Linked DNA regions of Homo sapiens: region 2 is linked to region 1. The links are contacts of gene promoters, found by promoter capture Hi-C in blood cells and fetal thymus (Javierre and others, 2016). All regions are on one chromosome and are shown on one strand. Each heading gives the region's core, a stretch centred on a gene start or on the middle of the fragment in contact. The rest is flanking DNA. Distances are from core to core; before and after follow the strand shown.

Evidence for each region. The method cuts DNA at HindIII sites, captures the fragments that hold promoters and counts their contacts. A CHiCAGO score of 5 or more calls a contact.
Region 2: a fragment that was not itself captured here is called in contact with the fragment with the promoter of LYPLA1 in region 1 in 1 of 17 cell types (M0 macrophages); the score reaches 5.5 in M0 macrophages.

The regions. Positions count from the first base shown.
Region 1 is chr8:54,098,958-54,106,801 of GRCh38, forward strand. LYPLA1 (lysophospholipase 1) reads right to left here and starts at 2,990. Exons shown (of 9, transcript NM_006330.4): 1 at 2,798-2,990; 2 at 1,951-1,982. The coding sequence starts at 2,866. LYPLA1-TCEA1 (LYPLA1-TCEA1 readthrough) reads right to left here and starts at 2,990. Exons shown (of 21, transcript NM_001425842.1): 1 at 2,798-2,990; 2 at 1,951-1,982. RefSeq lists a silencer at 2,544-3,113. The HindIII fragment of the contact is 1,923 bases long and covers 2,326-4,248 here.
Region 2 is chr8:53,858,714-53,866,557 of GRCh38, forward strand. It overlaps a transcript of RGS20 not described here. Among named protein-coding and RNA genes, the nearest start is that of RGS20, 18 kb to the right of the region's middle. The HindIII fragment of the contact is 602 bases long and covers 2,450-3,051 here.

The sequences.
Region 1 (7,844 bases), core at 1,740-4,239:
AGACCTTTGTTTTTTCTTTTATCACAACAGGTTAAAAAGAAGGATACTTTTTTAATATAAACTTAACTTTTGGTCAAGATGTAATGGATGTTCTTGGTATTTTTGATCCTAATAGTCTTCACCATTTTTACTTTTAGCTTCAGTCTGTGGAATCTGCCTAGACTGAAGTTTTTTTTTTTTTGCTTGAACTAATCATTCAGGCATAGAAGTGCTCATTATTGGCAAAGTTAGAGGATAGCAACCTTCTCCCTGACTTGCAACATCAAGAAAGGTTTGGCCATAAAATAGAGATTCTGCTATTCGAGTTTCATTTGGTAAAATAAGTTCATCATTTTCACAGGACCACTGGATTGCCAGAAAGAGTGCTGCAACCTTTTCTGTAACTCCATACAAAGTTTGTATTACATAACTCGACTTATTAGGCAAAAAATAGGAATCACTTTTAAGTGGTGGCTCACGCCTGTAATCCCAGCACTTTGGGAGGCTCAGGTGGGTGGATCATTTGAGGTCAGGAGTTCGAGACCAGCGTAACCAACATGGCAAAACTCTGTCTCTACTAAAAATACAAAAATTAGCTGGCATGGTGGCAAGCAACTGTAGTCCCAGCTACTCGGGAGACCCAGGAACCCAGAAGGTGGAGGTTGCAGTGAGTCAAGATCACGCCACTGCCCTCCAGCCAGGGCAACACAGCAGACCCTGTCTCCAAACAAACAAACAAAAATCTAGCCTAATGGCATTTTTTTTTTTTTTGAGTCTCACTCTGTGGCCCAGGCTGGAGTGCAGTCGTGCAATCTTGGCTCACTGAAGCCTCTGCCTCCCAGGTTCAAGTGATTCTCTTCTCTCAGCCTCCCTAGCAGCTGGGATTACAGGCATGCACCACCACACCCGGGTAATTTTTATATTTTTAGTAGAGATGGGGTTTCACCATATTGGCCAAGCTGGTGTCGAACTCTTGACATCAAGTGAACTACCCACCTCGGCCTCCCAAAGTGCTGGGATTACAGGTGTGAGCCACCGCGCCCGGCCCCAATGGTTCATTTTAAAGAAAATTTAGTCGTTCTGGGGCTACTTTATCAAAATTTATTTATCTTCAGTTTTCCTCTATTTCTGCAATTTTTCAACAACATTCATATTTTGCTTAAGTTTCACAGATTATCACCAATTTAAATATAAAAACAAAAACATCTCAATATAGAAAAAGCTTGAGTAAAAGATAAATCATGTATCTAAAGTTAGTACAAAAGGCCAGGCTCAGGCAGCTCCCACCTCTAATCTCTGTGCTTTGAGAGGCTGAGGCTGAAGGATCACTTGAGCCCAGGAGTTCAAAGCTGCAGTGAGCTAAGATCCTGCAACTGCACTCCAGCCTGGGCGACAGAGAGAGCCCTTGTCTCTAAAAATAATAACAAAAGAAAAAAGCAAACAAACAAAAAATAAAATAAAAATAAGTAGTTAGTACAACAAATTGTTTGATAAGCCTCCAAATAAATCTTTGAGTTGCCTCCCCTGCCTTTCAACTCATTAGAGTGAACATCTAATCCCTCTATTCAGAATGCTGCATGCCTTATGTTGCCACTAGTTCTCTTATCAAAATCAACTAGTTCTTCTCTTCAATCTGCTCTGAAATTTTAACTGCTCTGGAAAGCTCTCAATTGCACACCGTCCCTACTAACATTCCACGGATCTCTGGTATCCAATACCCAAAGCAACTAATGAGGAATTTGAAATTTTAATATGTTCCAGAAACCAGAGTTAAAAAATCAATAAACTCACGATGATAAGGGGAAAATTCTGAGGGTTTTCAAAACATAAAATCACCGCACTGTAAGATACATTAACTGGCAATCTTAAAATACCATTTTAGCGCCCTTAAACATTAAACCTTTGAACGCGTAAACAAAAGTTGCATGACCCAGTTTCATTACTGTTACTATTAATAATAATGGTACCTACCCAGTATCTCCCAATCCATGCAGGAAAATCACCTATAAGAGAAGAGGAAAATTAATAAGCAATGCCTAAATAAGCCCACACAGGATTGTTACACACTAGCTTTGCTTAAGGTGGAAAACGGAACGAAACCTACGAGAGAATTACACAACACTATCTTCGGCGACTTAATCTTTATCGACCTCTTTTAAATGGCAAAAATTCTGATCAACTTCTCCCTTTATTTCCTGAGATAATGAATGGGGGGGGGGTAGCACTGAGAGGTCCCAGTTAGACATTGAGTGCAAATGATCACATTCTAAGAAAAACAGTTTATCTCTTTCAAGTGAAATCAGGAACATCTCACATATCCTGTAGAATTTTTCCACTGCAAAAGCAAGCTTCCGGAGGCAAAAATAAGTTTGACTTTTCATACACGAGTTTTCTAAAAAACAGTACGTCTGACCTTGTAGGACACTCAATCTTCAAACTTCTTTCATTGAGGATAAGAGTGCGAGGTGACAATAAGGCGATTTCCTGGCGGACTTAGGTTTCCCTCACCCACACACCAGGCAGAAACACGCTGCAGAGGCTGACGCCGTGCCCTAGGCCGGCCCGCGGGGGTCCCGGGGCCACACTTCCTCCGCAATGCAGGGAGGAGCTGGGGACTGGCCCTCGCGCCGGCTGTGACCCCCCGGCTGCCCCCGCCCCCCGCGGACCCGGCCGCGCGGACCATTCGCACCCCACCCGGGCCGGGAGGAGCGTCCTCGTCCGCAGGCCGCCACGCGCCCGCAACGCCCACCCCGCGCGAGGGGCAACCACCGGTGGCCGGCCCAGTGGACCCCTCCGAGCCCACGCCTACGCCACTCACCGCAGCGGTGGCCTTCCGGGCGGCGGGCACGATGGCGGGCAGCGGGGTTGACATGTTATTGCCGCACATACACCGCCTCAGCTCACAGCGCAAGCGGAAGGAAGAGCGGGCGCCCGGCCGCGGCCCAAGGGCGTGCGAGCGGCGAGTCCCGGCCGGCCCCACCGGGCGCACGCTCAGGCGCGTGCGCGCCAACGCGGCCCCGCGCTACCTTCCGCGCGCGCCCGCGCGTCCAGGGTCCGCCCTGCCCTGCCCCTCGCCCGCCGCCCCTCCCTCGGCACCTCACAATGTCCGGGCGGCTCCCTCCCTCCGATTGGCTGCGGCGGCAGCGCGGACCTGGCTGCGCTTTCGCCACACCACGCAGCCTGCGCATGCTCAGTGCTGGCTAGGGAAAATGTGCTCTCAGGTGCAGGCTGAGGGCTGGTCTCTTGGGTCTTGGTTTAGGTTTTTGCTTTTCTGGCGCTGTAGTGAAAAGAATGAGCCCCAGAGCCAATTCACCCAACCCAACCCCAGGTGCTCCTTGGTTTCCTGCGGCCGGGGTCTATCCATTTGTAAAAGTCTGGATGGACTGGGAGACGTTGATGGAGCTTTTGCAGTATTTCCGTTTGGGGCTACAGCAGTATGTAGATTTGGGTTCAACTTACCTTCTTTAAACTTTAGTTGGAAAGGGTAACATTTGTCACCAGAAATCCACTACTTCCCTAACTTGATCGACAACACTTACTGATGTACGGATATTGACACAGTACAGGTTTAAGTGAGAGGTAAAGCCAGCTGGTCTTCTGGGTCGGTTGGGGACTTGGAGAACTTTTCTGTCTTACAAGAGGATTGTAAAATGTACCAACAGCACTCTGTAGCTAGGATTGTAAAATGCACCAATCAGCACTTTGTGGCTAGCTAGAGGTTTGTAAAATGCACCAATCAGTACCCTGTAAAACGGGCTAATCAGTGTTCTGTAAAGTGGACCAATCCGCAGGACTTGGGCCGGGACAAATAAGGAAATAAAAGCTGGCCACGCCCCCCATCCCCTAGCTGGCAGTGGCAGCCCTGGGTCCCCTTCCACACTGTGGAAAGTTTGTTCTTTCACTCTTCACAATAAATCTTGCTGCTGCTGCTCACTCTTTGGGTCTGTGGGACCTTTAAGAGCTGTAACACTCCCAGCACTTTGGGAGGCCGAGGCGGGTGGATCAGGAGGTCAGGTGATCGAGACCATCCTGCCTTAACACGGTGAGACCTCGTCTCTACTAAAAATACAAAAAAAAAAAATTGGCCGGTCGTGTAGTCCAAGCTACTTGGGAGGCTGAGGCAGGGGAATGGCGTGAACCTGAGAGGCAGAGCTTGTAGTGACCTGAGATCGCGTCACTGCACTCCAGCCTGGGAGACAGAGAGAGACCTTGTCTCAAAAAAAAAAAAAAAAAAAAAAAAAAACTGTAACACTCACCACGAAGGTGACAAGCTTTATTCTTGAAGTCAGCGAGACCATGAACCCACCGGAAGGAACCAACTCTGGACACATAAGCATGAGACTAGACTGCCCTTTTCTGCACAGGTGCCTTTATGGCCTAAAATGTAGTTACTCAACAAATGTGTTGCATATCAACTACATGGTAAGATCTGGAAGAGAGCACAAGATAGAAACACTTAAAGCCAAAATGCCCTGACCTTCAGAAGTTTACAATTCAGTGAAGGACATACTGGAGGCCGGGCGCAGTGGCTCAAACCTGTAATCCCAGCACTTTGGGAGGCCGAGGTGGGCGGATCACGAGGTCAGGAGATTGAGACCATCCTGGCTCACACGGTGAAAACCCGTCTCTACTAACAATACAAAAAAAAAAAAAAATTAGCTGGGTGTGGTGGTGGTTGCCTGTAGTCCCAGCTACTCGGGAGGCTAAGGCAGGAGAATGGCATGAACCCAGGAGGCGGAGCTTGCAGTGAGCCAAGATAGTACCACTGCACTCCAGCCTGGGCAACAGAGCAGGACTCCATCTGAAAAAAAAAAGGACATACTGGATACCATCCTTAGAGAGTAAGGTTCGGAAGAAAGCTGTAAAAAAAACAACACTCCATTTCTTTCACACGGTAACCAGTGTCAGAGGCGTGTGAACCAGAGCAACTCCATCTTAAATAGGGGCTGAGTAAAGTAAGGCTGAAACCTATTGGGCTGCATTCCCAGACGGTTAAGGCATTCTAAGTCACAGGATGAGATAGAACGTCAGCGCAAAATATAGCTTATAAAGATCTTGCTGATAAAACAGGATGCAGTAAAGAAGCCGGCCAAAACCCACCAAAACTAAGATGGCAATGAGAGTGAACTCTGGTCATCCTCACTACTGCACTCTCATTGAGAGATAACAACGCGCTAGCAGTCCTCGCTCATTCTCAGCACCTCCTCGGCCTCGGTGTCTGCTCTGGCCACACTTGAGGAGCCCTTCGGCCCGCCGCTGCACTGTGGGAGCCACTCTGTGCTGGCGCAGGCCAGAGCCAGCTCCCTCTGCTTGCAGAAAGGTGTGGAGGGAGAGGTGTCCGTGGGAACCGGGGCCAGAGCAAGTTCCGGGTGGGCGTGGGCTCGGCGGGCTTAGCACCTGGGCCAGCAGCTGCGGAGGGGGCACCAGGTCCCCCGGCACTGTGGGCCCGCCCTCACTGCGCTGGAATTCTCCCCGGGCCTCAGCCGCCTCCCCGCGGGGCAGGGCTCAGGACCTGCAGCCCGCCATACCTGAGCCTCCCCCGCCCCCGCCGTGGGCTCCTGCGTGGCCCAAGCCTCCCTGACCAGCACCTCCCTTTGCTCCGCGGCACCTGGTCCCATCGACCGCCCAAGGGCTGAGGAGTGCAGGCCCACGGCGTGGGACTGGCAAGTAGCTCTGCCTGCGGCCCCAGTGCAGGATCCACTAGGTGAAGCCAGCTGGGCTCCTGAGTCTAGTGGGGACTTGAAGAACTTTTATGTCTAGCTAGAGGATTGTACACACACCAATCAGCACCCTGTGTCTAGCTCAAGGTTTGTAAATGCACCAATCAGCGCTCTGTATCTAGCTAATCTGGTGGGGACTTGAAGAACCTTTATGTCTAGCTAAAGGATTGTAAATACACCAATCAGCACTCTGTGTCTAGCTCAAGGTTTGTAAATGCACCAATCAGCACTCTGTATCTAGCTAATCTGGTGGGGACGTGGAGAATATTTATGTCTAGCTAAGGGATTGTAAATAACACCAATCAGCACTCTGTGTCTAGCTCAAGGTTTGTTAAACACACCAATCAGCACCCTGTGTCTAGCTCAAGGTTTGTAAATGCACCAATCAGCGCTCTGTGTCTAGCTAATCTAGTGGGGACTTGGAGAACTTTTGTGTCTAGCTCAGGGATTGTAAATGCACCAGTCAGCACCCTGTCAAAATGGACCAGTCAGCTCTCTGTAAAATGGACCAATCAGCAGGATGTGGATGGGGCCAGATAAGGGAATAAAAGCAGGCTGCCTGAGCCAGCAGTGGCAACCCACTCGGGTCCCGTTACACACTGTGGAAGCTTTGTTCTTTTGCTCTTTGCAATAAATCTTGCTGCTGCTCACTCTTTGGGTCCGCAGTGCCTTTAAGAGCTATAACACTCACTGCGAAGGTCTGCAGCTTCACTCCTGAAGCCAGTGAGACCAGGAACCCACCAGAAAGAATAAACTCCAGACATACCATCTTTAAGAACTGTAACACTCACCGCGAGGGTCCGCAGCTTCATTCTTGAAGTCGGTGAGACCAAGAACCCACCAATGCTGGACACACCATCAACGCCATGACAGTTTACGAGTGCTGTGGCAATGTCAGGAAGTTACCCTATATGGTCTAAAGAGGGGAGGCATGAATAATCCACCCCTTGTTTAGCATAACATCAAGAAATAACCATAAAAATGGGCAACCAGCTATGGAGTAGCCATTCTTTTATTTCTTTACTTTCTTAATAAACTTGCTTTCACTTTACTGTATGGACTTGCCCTGAATTCTCTCTTGCGTGAGATCCAAGAACCCTCTCTTGGGGTCTGGATTGGGACCCCTTTCCTGTAATATCAGCGTTCTGAAGGATTTGAGGTCTTATTCACACTGTTTTTAATCATTCTTGTGGATTGGATTTGGACAATGAGAATTTTGTGGATTCTCCAAAAGTTTTAAATTGATGACAATTTACTGAAAATGATAATAGTGGGATTCACATTTCATGTACTTGTGTACATTTATCAGGCTTTTAAGTCCTTTAGTTGTGATATCAGTGTTACTGGAAAGGGATCCCAGTCCCAAGAGAAGATTCTTGGATCTCTGGCAAGAAAGAATTTGGGGCCATAAGTGAAAGCAATTTTATTAGAGAAGCAAAAACAAAACAAAACAAAACAAAAAAAAACAAAAGAATGGCTACTCCGTAGGCAGAGCAGGGCTAGGGGCTGCTCCACTGAGTATACTAATAGTTATTGCTTGTTTATATGTTAAACAAGGGGTGGATTATTCATGAGTTTTCTGGTAAAGGGACAGGGATTTCCTGGAACCGAGGGTTCCTCTTTTGACCATATAGGGTAGATTCCCTACCTGGCCATAGCAGTTTACAACTGTCATGGAGCTGGTGGAAGTGTCTTTTAACATGCTAATGCGTTATAGTAAGTGTATAATGAGCAGAGAGGACGACCAGAGGTCGTTTTCCTTGCCATTTTGGTTTTGGTGGGTTTGGGCCAGATTCTTTACTGCATCCTGTTTCATCAGCAGGGTCTTTATAACCTATGTCTTGTAATACCAGTCCGGTGACCTCCAATCTCATTCTGTGACTAAGAATGCCTAACCTCGTGGGAATGCAGCCCAGCGGGTCTCGGCCTCGTTTTACCTTCCTCCATTCAGAAGGAAGTCGTTCTGGTTCTAATGCTTCTGACGTTAATTGAGAAAACAAAACTCTCTAGTTCTTACTGTGAACATGTTCCAAATCACTATTACGTTGAGTTTTTCTATGATGTAAAAAGTAGAGAATTCTAAGGGCCACCAATCATTTATTAATTTACTCCATTAGTGGGGAGTAGGACAGTTCAGGTTGAGGT
Region 2 (7,844 bases), core at 1,501-4,000, 240 kb before region 1:
ACAATTGAGACGCCCCCAAGCAAGGAAGGTGGAGAAGGGTCTCCGGTGATCAGCTGGGGCAAGCTCAAAAGATTATTTGCTGCAGTTAATGTGGCCCCATTTTTTTTAACCTGTAGGCCATGTCCAATGCCTCCTTGACTGTCTGAAAAATATCCAGCAATGGAACTGGGGTTATGTTTAAAAAAAAAAAAAAAAAAAACCGCGGGGGGTGGGGCAGAGGAAGTGGGAAGTACTGAAAGGGTTTTCAGAAGAGAGATGTGGTCTTTGATTTGCCTTAAAATAATCCAGGGGAGGAGGAAAGTAGGAGTGTAAGAGATAATGCAGACTTGACAATGTGTTCTTAATTATTGAAACTGGGTGATGGACATGAGGGTTCATGAAGATAGTCACTCAGATTTTTTGTATTTTGAAAATTAACATAATACATTTGTTTTTAAGAATCCCAAAGACTAGAGCTTACGATGTACCTTTAAATTTAAATAACAAACGAACAAACTTTTCATATTCTATTTATACACCACAATGGAAGCTGTTGTGTATGCTGTCTAGCAAACATTCAGTAACTGCACAAATCATCTTGACCTTTTGGGGAATATTTTAAATGGCAAAAAATATCCCATATGAAAATCAAAGAAGCATACTGCAAAAATCCTGGCTAGCTTTAGTATACTGGTTTGTTTGTCTTTTCATTGATTTTACAACTCTCAGATTTTAAATGGTTTTAATGGTTACAGAAAAATATATCTAGTATCATTACCATTGTTCAAAAGTCTCATAAAATCATGTTGGCTTCCCTGCTGAAATCAAGCCAGTCTTCACAAAGCCACAGAATCACTGCAAATGTTTTAGAAAATTTACATTAAAGTTTTACCCTCTTGCAAGATAAAGATGTGAATAAACTATATTGGGAAACTCAGGGAGTGTATTAGTCCATTTTCATACTGCTGTGAAGAAATACCCGAGACTGGTTGATATATAAAGAAAAAGAGGTTTAATGGACTCACAGTTCCACATGGCTGAGGAGCCCTCACAATCATGGTGGAAGGCAAAGGAGGAGCAAAGGCATGTCTTACATGGTGGCAGGCAAGAAAGCGTGTGCAGGGGGACTGCCCTTTATAAAGCCGTCGGATCTCATGAGACTTATTCACTATCATGAGAACAGCATGGGAAAAACCCACCCCCACTATTCAGTTACCTCCCACCGGGTCCCTCCCATGACATATGGGGATTATGGGAGCTACAATTCAAGATGAGATTTTGGTGGGGACACAGCCAAACCATATCGGGGAGTAAACTTGTTTTTCTAGGTTCTCTAGAAACCATTTATTTCCATTCTATGAGAAAAGGTGATCCAAATCAAGCTTGTGTCACTTAAGAGTTTATTTTAGAAACATCTATAGAATGGTTTTACAGCTCCTGCATTTCAAATGACTGAAAAATGAAATTTTAAGATGAAGCAAATATGTTGAAAGGATAATAGTTTAAACCATATAGTGACAACTGGAATATATTCAAATATTCAAGAAAGAAACCCAAATCACAGACTACAAAAGTAATTTGATTTGACATCAACTATGTAACCAAATATGTTTTCCCATAAGACTATATTTGGCTTATATGATTTCGAATTCTCAACACTAAAAATTGTAAGGATTTATATTCAAGTGATAGATCATTCTAAGAACTTTTATTCAAAATAAGACTGGAAATGAACTAAAATATGCAAGACATTGTCTCAACACGTTTTTGTAACTGTCTGTTCAAATTGCATATGACTAGAAGACAAAAGGAAATAGCAAGGAGGCAGGAGGCTAGCAGCCCAGGAACCTCAGACCAGGAATCTGTGGAAGATAGTTTAACACCAGCAAACTGCCTCTAATAGCTGTGGCTCCATGTTCTCATTCCAAATTCCCAGGAGAGAGGATCTGGCCCAGTATAGATGTGGTCTCTGTCTCAAGATCCATCAGCCCTGCTGAGCGCAGTGGGTCACACCTCTAATCCCAGCACTCTGGGAGGCCAAGACAGGTGGATCACTTGACGTCAGGAGTTCGAGCCCAGCCTGGCCAACATGGTGAAACCCCATCTCTACTAAAAAATACAAAAATTAGCTGGGTGTGGTGGCACATGCCTGTAATCCCAGCTACTCAGGAGGCTGAGGCAGGAGAATTGCCTGAACCCAGGAGGCAGAGGCTACAGTGAGCCAAGATCACACCACTGCACTCTAGCCTGGGCAACAGAGTGAGACCCTGTCTCCAAAAAAAAAAAAAGATCAATCAGCCCTAGCTGTTCTTTAGGTTGTAAGACAATCTTAAGGGGTTGTCCAGCACATATTTTGAGTGATTGCAACTTTAAACCAACTTATGGGATTCCAAAATCAACGATGACACCTGAAGTAGACAGCCCTGATTTAGATATTTGAGGCCTGGCATTTTTATATCTATCACCCACAAGCTTTGTAATCACGCCTCAGAGATAATTCTACACATCTTCTCTGTTTATCTCCTATTCCCACCACCAGACATTCTGCAAAGTATCTGTGGATAAGCCCCACAAAACTAGAGTCAGCAGACCCTCAGCCCCTAGGGGACACAAGCTGTGAAGTTCTTGTGTGACCCTCTGTCCTCTCTTGAGTCAGCGTGACCCAGTGTGGGTCATCGGATAAACACCCACACTAATAAATGAATATTTTTACCTGTAAGTTATCAACAAAATATATAGATTGTGTGAAGTTACATAAAAATAGTTGAGCAAAATATGACCAAATGAAATGAATAAAACATTACTTGAAAGAAATGATCAAAGCAGTTGATACTACCAATGTCACACTGCATTTCCGAATTCTGTAATAAATCTGCTGTCTCTGCTTCTGTGAGTTGTATTTAAGGCTTTCATCTGTGACCATTTGCCCAGAGGATCATGTTCTGAAGGATATATTTTTGAAGTTTTCATTTGAAGAGAAAGTATTATTACCATCAACATCGTATCAGGAGGACATGCAATTAATTTTACAGACAGTTTTGTTGAAGAACAAGTTTGCTGGATTAAAAAGTAAGCTTATGATCAGCAAATAAAATCCAGGTACTATTGCTTCCTTTTTTCTGTTTTTGCCTTGTCTTAAAAATACCTGCACCTGATTATTTTTACCAACTTATTAGCATCATTAAGATCTCTAAGCTTCCCCTTTCCCAGAGCTGCAGTTTTGGAGAAGCCACACATCTCCCATCATTTGTTGGCCCGTGGGGAGTCCAAGCTTTGGGGGGGCCAACCATTGCCCCACATGGATTCTTTGCTACCCTGAAGATAAGCAGAGTGAAGGTGAGGAGGGTGTGAGGAACAGGAGGCAAAGGAGGGTCCCTCAGGCCCCTGGTCGTTAGCCTGGACCAAACTAGAAGTTAAGAGAAGTTTGCCTCCCCTCTCTCTCACCCACCCCTCACCTTGGACTCTTCGCCAACATCCACAGACATACCCTAGGAACCTCATTCTCTCATTCTGGCCTAGTTTCTCCCTTTAAAAAAAGAAACAAAAGTTCAAATTCAAATGCACTTAGATGTAAATGAATTCATACATCACTCCTGCTCATGAAATCTACAGGGAACACTCATATTAGATCCACAAGAATGAACCTGAGTAGTGTAATTTGGACCATATAAAATCTGAGCAGGTGGGAGACTTGGGGTTCAGGGCTACTTCCAGCCCCTCCTCAGAAACCACACTCCAGCGTGATGCAAATCCTGCTGGCTTCTACTTCTGATCACAGAGAAGGTGCAGCGTTCCTTGGTTCTGTCTTCACTTCAAAACCTCCTGCTTTATAAAAAATTAGCTGGAGGGCTAGGCATGGTGGCTCATCCCTGTAATGCCAGCACTTTAGGAGGCCAGTAGTTTGGGGCCAGCCTGGACAACAAAGAGAGATCCAGTCTCCACAAGAAAATTTAAAAATTAGCTGGGTGAGTGGCACATGCCCCTAAGTCCTAGCTACTCAGGAGGCTGAGGCATGAGGATTGCTTGAGCCCAGGAGTTAGAGACTGCAGTGAGCTATGATCATGCCACTACACTCCAGCCTGAGTGATGGAGTGAGACCCTATCTCTAAAAAGAAAAGAAAATCTCCTCCTTTTCTAAGTTGTTTTGGCCAAAAGCCAGGTTATAGTTCTGCTTGGTTTATCCATCAGAAATGGGCTGGGTTTTTAGATACACGAAATCACAAGGGGAGGGGGAAATAATGCCTTTGGGTTTTAGGAAATCGGGAACCAGAGAGCTCATGACATTTTCTTTTCTTTTCTTTTCTTTTGTTTTTGAGATGGAGTTTCGCTCTTGTTTCTCAGGCTGGAGTACAATGGCACGATCTCGGCTCACCGCAACCTCTGCCTCCCAGTTCAAGGGATTCTCCTGCCTCAGCCTCCCGAGTAGCTGGGATTACAGGCATGTGCCACCATGCCCGGCTAATTTTGTATTTTTAGTAGAGACGGGGTCTCTCCATGTTGGTCAGGCTGGTCTCAAACTCCGGACCTCAGGTGATCCGCCCGCCTCGGCCTCCCAAAGTGTTGGGATTACAGGTGCGAGCCACAGCGCCCGGCCATGACATTTTCAAATTCCTTCTCCCTGAGTCAAGATTCAGAGCTCATTGCTCCCTTCTTGGAATACAGCCCTCCACCTCACTCCCAGATGCAATAAGCATTCTCAGGGGCCCAAGAGCAGATGGGCTCTTCTTTGCTAATGCTTTTTAAAGGCAGGGAGTAGAACAATGGCAAATGGTGACATCTGGTGGAAATCCAAGCACTGCAGCACTTCGAACCAGTGCGACTTGAGGCTCAGTTGTAACTAACTGAAGTCTGAGTACTTGAAGATGTCCTTTTTTACCAAGTGAAAAGCTCAGTGATATCACCCTTTTGGCTGACACAGGTACACCCTGCCACCAAGCAAGATGATGACATAAAGGGCAATGTCTTTGAAATGCCAAGAATTGGTTTTTGAATTCAGGTCTAAGTTGTATTTCATTCTCTGAGTCTTTGTTTTATCTTTTTTTTTTTTTTTTTTTGGCAGAGTCTCACTTTGCCACCCAGGCTGGAGTGCAATGGCGCCAACTCGGCTCACTGCAACCTCTGCTTCCCCGGTTCAAGCAATTCTCCTGTCTCAGCCTCCCAAGTACCTGGGACTACAGGCTCATGCCACCACACCCAGCTAATTTGTATGTATTTTTAGTAGAGACAGGGTTTCACCATGTTAGCCAGGATGGTCTCAATCTCCTGACCTCGTGATCTGCCTTCCTCGGCCTCCCAAAGTGGTGGGATTACAGGCATGACATTTTATCTTCTATAAAATCAAGACAATAATACTTTTCACATTCAATTTGAATGGTTGCTTTGAAAAAATCAAATGAGACAAGGCATGTAAAAATGCTGGTAAACTATAAAGACATGGGCTTTTTTAAAAAACTCAGATCATGGTGGCTCACACCTGTAATCCCAGCACTTTGGGAGGCCAAGGCAGGTGGATCACTTGAGGTCGATCAGGAGTTCAAGACCAGCCTGGCCAACATGGTGAAACCCCGTCTCTACAAAAATACAAAAAAAAAATCAGCTGGGCATGATGGCGGGTGCCTGTAATCCCAGCTACTCGGGAGGCTGAGGCAGGAGAATAGCTTGAACCCAGGAGTTGGAGGTTGCAGTGAGCTGAGATTGTGCCATTGCACTCCAGCCTGGCGATAGAGCAAGACTCCATGAAAAAAAAAAAAAAAAAAAAACTCAGATACTTTGAGTTTTTCTTTTAAAAGCCTGCATCGGTGAGTCCAGCTTTCCATTAGCCCTGTGCTGCCTCCCGGGAACCCCTTGGAATCCTATGGGCTGGGTTTGTAGCCAGTTTCTCCCATAATAGTTGTTAATCTAGTTATCTCCATCTGCAGATGGACCTCGTACATAGTGGGCACAGAGTAAGAGCCCAGTTAATATTGATTGGCCAGTTGATTAGTAGATATAGAAATGCATTATTTCCCTAATTTTTTTCCACCATGTGGATGAAACAAGATTTCATCTGATTAAGGTCAGAGATCATATGGTATTTCTTGATGTCTTCAAACTGAAATTGTTAAAATCTTTCTTCAGACAAATGTTTCATATGCCCTGAAAGAAATTAATGACAGTTAAGAATTCTGAATGGCCCCTAAAATGTTTCATATCAAGGCAGTGCCAACCTCCAACTTCCCCAAGAAAACATCCCCTTTAAAATGCCAAGCAAAGCAGTCTAATTCAGTCGCGTCCAACTCAAAGAAATCAATGCCCGCTAACAAGTTCTCCCAGCAGCCAGGCCAGAGGAGGGAGAAAGCCTTAGAACGACAGGGCCCCGCATGGCCTGAACGAGGCTCACACAAAGCCTGGTTTATTAGGAACCACTGGAAAAGCTATAAAGCCCAGGCAGCCTTCCTGGGCCTGTCACAAATTGTCCACTTTGGAGAGAACAATGTCTTCCCTGTTCTTGCCGTCTTGTTTGTTGATTTTCAGGCTCCATCAGTGTGAAATTGAGAGATCCGGCCCAGGTCCGTGGGGACAAATGGAGTGGCCCTCTTGTGTCAGGCCTTCTCTGAACATCCATTTTAACAAACCTCATACCTTCAGGGTCTACTCATGCAATTGCTGCAGCCTCTATCCCACAGTTTCTCGCCTCTGTAATTGAGAAAGAGATGAGATGCATTGTTTAGAAATGTAAAACCACATCTATCAAAAAACATTTTTATTACAAAAGTGTTAGACATAATAGCATAATAAAACCGTATGTGCCCATTACCCAGCTTCAACAATTATCAACTCCAGATCATGACATTTCAAAGTTCATTCATTTAACAGATATTCATTAAGTACATGTTATATCCCAGTACTGCTTAGGTTTTTTTGTGGGGGTTTTTTGTTTGTTTGTTTGTTTTTGAGACAGAGTTTGCCCTCTCGCCCAGGCTGGCATGCAGCGGTGTGATCTCAGCTCACTGCAACCTCTGCCTCCTGGGCTCAAGCTGTTCTCATGCCTCAGCCTCCTGAGTAGCTGAGATGACAGGTGTGCACCACCATGCCCAGCTAATTTTATCCATTTTTAGTGGAGATGGGGCTTCTCTGTTTTGGCCAGGCTGGTCTTGAACTCCTGGCCTCAAGTGATCTACCTGCCTCAATGTTCCAAAGTACTGGATTACAGGCATGAACCATTGTGCCTGGCCAACTGCTTAGGGTTTTGAGACACAGGTCTGAATATTGCAAAGTCCTGAGGCTCACAGAGCTCAGAGCCTGATGGGAAAACAGACTATCACAATACAGAGCATGCAGGCAACCCCAACGTGAGAGAGCTTCCTGAGGGAAATGGCATCTAAGCTGAGACTTGAAGGATAAATAGGAGAGGAGATTGCCCTGGGAGAGAAGAAGAGGTAACTGGAGAGGGGAGTGATTCAGGCAGAAGCAGCAGCTGACACAAAGTCCCAGGAATGAGAATGAACAAGGAAATTTTAGGAACGGAAGGAACATGAATGTATGGTGCTTTGAGTACCAAGGAATAGGTGACAGAAAGATGGGTAGACAGAGTACACATCAGCAAATCGCAGAAGGTCTTCTATGCCATGTGAAGTCACTTGAACTTCATCCTGCAGAGAAATGATGAGCCCCTGTGAGGCTAAAAGGAAGGGAAGAGAAGGACACATTTACCTCTTTTTTTTTTTTTGAGTCTTGCTCTGTCACCCAGGCTAGAGTGCAGTGGCACAATCTCGGCTCACTGCAACCTCCGCCTCCCAGGTTCAAGCAATTCTCCTGCCTCAGCCTCCCAAGTAGCTGGGATTACAGGAGGCACCCACCATCACACGCCTGGCTAATTTTTGTAT